Linked DNA regions of Homo sapiens: region 2 is linked to region 1. The links are contacts of gene promoters, found by promoter capture Hi-C in blood cells and fetal thymus (Javierre and others, 2016). All regions are on one chromosome and are shown on one strand. The core of a region is centred on a gene start or on the middle of the fragment in contact, and the rest is flanking DNA. Distances in the headings are between cores, read along the strand shown.

Region 1 (2,679 bases), core at 55-2,554:
AATTACAGTGCCCGCACACAGAGAGGCTTAAACTCTCCCCGGGAATTTCAGCTGAGCGTGAGGGCCTGGAGAAGTTCCCCCAGGGGGAATGGGGAATAGAGGGCAGCTTAGAGAGCTGAGCTCCTTCTGAGATGGGACCAGGAATTCCGGGGAGACTGATCAGGGTTTTTTCCCCTCTCGGAGAAACAGAGGATGGAGAGGGGCATGGAGGGGGTTGCGCTGCAGCCCTGGTCTCCACCCTCACCAAGCCTGGGTGCAAGGTACCGACCCTCTTCCTTCCTAGTTCCTTTCCCCGTCAGGCTACGGGGAAGGAAGTGGGCAGGAGGCGGGATCCAGCCCTGCACCCTGTCCCAGGCCCTTCAGGACAACAGCATAGAGGTGAAAAAAGATCATGTATCAAATTCCCGGCCAAGCCACTTAGTGGCAGCTGACTGATCTTGGGCAAATCACTCATTCTCGCTGAGCGGCGGCTTTCTTACCTGTAAACGGATCATGATGGCACCTGACTCATTAGGTCCCAGGAAGTATTAAATAAGATCGCACGTGTAAAACTACCAACGGCGGCTGGCACACAGTGGGCTTGCGGTTCTTAATACATATATTTTTAATTCTGTTAAGCATCAACCCTCCCGTGCGAAAGCTGAGTTGTCCTCTCAGACGGAGAACTCCCGTAGCGCAATCTTCCAGACCCGGGGTGCCTGGGCGCCAGCATTCTCCCCGCGCCCAGGAGCTCACATTCTCCTCCCGTCACCCCTAGATCTGGCTTGGGGAGGCCGCCCCTCTGCATCCTCCCCAGCTTTGGCCCGGGGAGGCTCTGAGACCCGGGTGAGGGCGCGGAGGGGGTGCGCGCGGCGGTTCTACCCGGGCAGCATCCCAGCCGCAGCTTTCCCACCCCCTCCCCAGCGCCCAGCGCGCAAAAAGAGAGAAAGCGAGAAAGGCGCGGATACTGGACCAGGCTTTGACGCGGATCTTGAGCTCGCCGTCCTGAGGCTCGGGCATGGCCTTCCTGAAGAGCCGCAGCTTGTTGAGCCCCCCGAAGCCAGCCAGCACCACCGCGCGCATCTCCTGGGCGTCCCCGAGGCGGTGCGAGCCGTCGCCGCCGCCGCCCTCCGCCGGCTCCTTGCCTGCCTCCTTCTCGATCATTTGCTCCGTCTCCTCCGCCTTCTCCACGCCTTCCTTGGCCATGGCGCTCGAGGGCGCGGGGCGCACGGGCTGCGGTGGCTGCGGTGGCTGCGGCGCTGGGGGAGTGGGGCTCCTCTCCCGCGGGTTCCTCCTGTTGAATGTGGGATGCTCGGCTGTGCAATGGCTGCAGCCTCTGCGAGCGCCGCCGCGGTCCACAGCCTCCGCCGTAATCCTCACAAGAGCCGTGCCCTAAGCGCTTCACCCCCGCCCCACCCTTCTTTCCTGTCCCAACGAAGCCTCAACTCCAGTTCCTGAAATAGTCCCAAGTTAGGGTCGGGATCGCGGCCCTAAACCCAAATTTGCCGAAGATCTGTGACTAAAACGAGCCTAGAGAGACCACCCTGTCATCCCCCTTCCTGTGGGCCCAGTACTTGGTTATATACGGCACAGGCTCGGGTGCCTTGAAATGGACCGAGACTAATGTCTGGGCCTGGAGGATGCCTTACCGCGACAAGGTTGCCCTCTCTCCCTCCCATCTTCGAGGCTGGGCGGGATAGTCGGGAAATTGGGTCGTTTCTCAAACAGCCAGTTTTGGGTGGAAGGGCGGAGAGGTTTGGGAAGCAGGGAACTAGAGATCCCGCTCACTGCCCTGAAGAGTCCAGTGCAGGGTCTTTTCACTCCAGACCTGCAGGGTCAGCCGGGATGCTCTTTGCTGGGTATCACCAGGGGCTTCCTTACGACGGCGAATTCTCACCACCCACACCATTTCGGGCTATTAAAGAGGCTTCAGACAAGAATCCTGTACCAGAAAGGATCCTGTTCGTGTTCTGATCCCCGGAAGACCAGTGTGTACCCGCTCCCCAACATGCATGCACATACACAGAGTAGTAACTGGCGTTTTGTTTTGTTATCAGGCTCTTTGAGAAAAACAGCTCATAGAAAAACTTGGAATTTCTGAAATAAAATAATGGGGAAGGACGTGGTTTTCCTAGGGGCAGTTTAAGGAAAGAGATGCAGGTGAGGAAGTAGGTCTATATTCTATTATAGTTGCTATGCCATTGCCAGCCTTGAGATCTTGGGCAACTCATTCAACCTTCCTGAGCCTCAACACACTCATCTATAAATTGGGTACATTGATTTTTTTTTCTATATTGTGTGAAGTGCTGGGGTGGACATGATTTCAGTGAGACATGGTCCTTATATTGGAAAAGGTCAATTTCAGAGCATGAGGCATGAAGGACACAGTCAACAAATGTGGTACAATGAATGATGTAAGTGCTGCCTCTTCTCTCCCCTCATTCTTCCTGTGCCTCACTGCTTTAAATGCCCTTGTCTTCTATTCCTTAAAAAAAAAAAAAAAAAAAAAAAAGACGATTGCCATTTTCCCTCCTTCCACAGGGTTCTGCACCTGCTGTCCCCTTGGCCTGGGGTATGTGTTCCATCTCCTTTATCTGGTGTTAACTCCTACTTCGTTCTCACCTCAAGGGTCCATTCCTGTTGGGAGGCACTCCAACCTCCAGATTGGTGTCCTCCCTGACTATAGACACTTATGTCCCT
Region 2 (2,679 bases), core at 110-2,609, 210 kb before region 1:
ACTTTCTACTTTCCCGCTCTCATCTCTCTCGTTTTCAGTATTTATTGAATTTTTTTTAGTTTCCTATTTGTGTAACAAATGACCACAAACTCTGAGGCTTGTTTATGATATGATCATATTCATGATGAGTTTCTACAGGTCAAGAGTCTGGGCTTAGCTTATCCCCTGCTCAGTTTCGCTCAGTCGTCCAGGCTGGAGTGCAGTGGAGTGATCTCAGCTCACTGGAACCTCTGCATCCCAGGGTCAAGTGAGTCTCGTGCCTCAGCCTCCCGAGTAGCTGAGATTACAGGCATGCACCACCACGCCTGGCTAATTTTTGCATTTGTAGTAGAGAGGGGGTTACACCATGTTGGCCAGGCTGGCCTTGAACTCCTGGCCTCAAGCAGTCCTCCCCTGCTTTGGGCTCCCAAAGGGCTGGGATTACAGGAGTGACCCACTGCGCCTGGCTGAGAAAAGGATATTTTAAGCGAGTTATCAGAGTTGATGCAGAACCCTGTGTAAGCCATACTCCCTGCCTCCAGGCCTCAGTTTCACCATTGGGAATGATTTAACTAATGCCAGCACATTCCTTTCAGCGCTATAAGACGAAGTCGTTGTTACCTCCATAGCCCAGCAAATTGCCTGGCAACATTACAGGAGCTAGACAAATGTCCGCTGGATCAACCAATGAGAGTGGAGTGGAAATTAAGATAAATTAGCTGTGTGTCCCGGACTGACCACTAGGTGGCAGGAGGCTGACGCCAAGTCCAAGCTTGGTACCCGGTTGCTGGCTGGCTGGGAGCCTTCTGGGAGGAGCCTTGAATGTCCTTTTAGGCTGGGGCTTGTCATGGCGGCGGAAGAGGGGGAAGGGAGGGAGGCAGAAGGTGAGGTCTCTTTCACAAAAGGTCTGACACTTAGACTTTCCCCTTTATCCTCAAATGAATTTATTTCCATTGCCATAGAAATTCACAGATAGGATTGAGAAAAAGCTTTTCATGCAACTGTAGATCTGTATATTTTTATAAATTTAGCATCTAATTTTTAAAAATATATTGGAACATCTTAGTTGCAAGCTCTTTCTCCCCTTCCCATGAGCCATCCCACACTCCTGACCTACAGACCCAGGTATAGAACAGGGCCTCCCCTGTCATGGTGAGATGACACTGGGCTGTGCAGTCTCAGATCATTTCCATCACAGGAGAGGCCCGGGTCCTAACCAGCACTTTTCAAAATGCAGCAGAATCGCCTGGGGCTGCTGTACATAAAAATGCAGATTCCTAGGCAATGGCAGTCTCCGTAGATCAGAATCTCTGGGAGGGCTTTAGTCTGCAATTGTGTTGGCTTTTCACAAGTCTCCTAGGATTCTGAGGTACAACTGAAGTTTGAGAAACACTCCCTTAGGCTTTCTGGGGAGCCTTTCTGGGGCTCTCATCAGCCCTCTTGGAGGTCCAGAGATGCTCCAGCTACCTCCAGCTTCACACACACACACACACACACACACACACACACACACACACACACGTGCATACACGTGCATATGTACATACACATATGTTTTTTGTTTTCTGGATTACGTGCACAATGATGCATGTACATTCTACAAATCCATAGATTATAAAAGCAAATAATGTAGGAAATAGAAATCCTCTATGATATTGTAGACCGGAGAGAGCTGCTGTTGGTAATTGCTATTTTAACTGCCTCCAATCCTGATGCATCCCCTATTTAGGTACTAAAAATGTAGCAGAGTTTTTTCTCCCAGGAAAGCTTCATAAAAGCAAAATAGGGTGCCCACCCTCATCTAACAAATAACTCATGGCTTCTTTATGACCAAATACGTTTTTTTTTCCCCTCCTGGAGAAATCAAATGTCAATGTGGACCTGTAGCACTATGACATCAAATTCTCTACTCCTGAAGGTGAAGGGCAGGGCTCCTGTACTTGTTTCAGGATTTTTTAAGGAGGTGCAACAGGATTTGCACTGCAGGCTCAGTGACTTAGCTATCACATTAGCATGTGTTATTGGGAAACAGTCCAGAGTCCAAGTTCAAGGATTTCTTACAACTTTTGTTTTTACTTTATAGTGAAGTTTAAAGTTTTTGAAATATGTACTTGTCACTGTAATCTTTTGAGACTTCCTTTTCTTACTGAGGTTAAAATTGTCCAGCTATGCTAATGAGTTGATGGTATGTGAGCTCTATGAGCCAAACACTAAGCTAAATGCTTTATGTATATGATCTTAATTCTCTTGATAGCCCAACAGACTGATGGCTGTTATCCTCACTCTATTTATAAGGAAAGTGGTGTGGTTACGTGAGGTTATGACAAGCCTGCCCGAGGACCTACAGATCGTAAATCAGCAGTAAGGCCAGGATTTATAAAATCCTTGTAGTTTGACTATAGAGCCATGTCCTTAATCGCTATAATATAGTGGCCATTCAACTTTTTCTGTGACTTGGCCATGAAGAATCATGGTAAATATTTGCTATTCTTCCTAAGGGAGAATTGGCAGCTTTGCTCATTCTATACGATTTCTTGTTTTATTCTCTTGACAATATTGCAAGGTGGTTTAAGCTCCTCCCATTTTGCTGTTCTACAAAATGCAAAGAACATGAGAAAAACCTCCACTGGACTAGATGATCCTAGGTCAGGGTTCCCCAGAGTGTGTTCCCCAGAATTCTGATAAAAGCCTCCATGGGAA

Evidence for each region. The method cuts DNA at HindIII sites, captures the fragments that hold promoters and counts their contacts. A CHiCAGO score of 5 or more calls a contact.
Region 2: a contact is called between a fragment that was not itself captured here and the fragment with the promoter of VAT1L in region 1, in 3 of 17 cell types (M0 macrophages, M2 macrophages and endothelial precursors). The highest score is 6.6, in M0 macrophages.

Annotation. Positions count from the first base shown.
Region 1 is chr16:77,787,189-77,789,867 of GRCh38, reverse strand. VAT1L (vesicle amine transport 1 like) reads right to left here and starts at 1,304. Exons shown (of 9, transcript NM_020927.3): 1 at 953-1,304. The coding sequence starts at 1,185. All of the region lies in intron 1 of LOC107984878 (a long non-coding RNA gene), which reads left to right. The HindIII fragment of the contact is 9,864 bases long and covers 1-2,679 here.
Region 2 is chr16:78,001,176-78,003,854 of GRCh38, reverse strand. No RefSeq gene overlaps it. Among named protein-coding and RNA genes, the nearest start is that of CLEC3A, 20 kb to the left of the region's middle. RefSeq lists a silencer at 625-824. The HindIII fragment of the contact is 778 bases long and covers 971-1,748 here.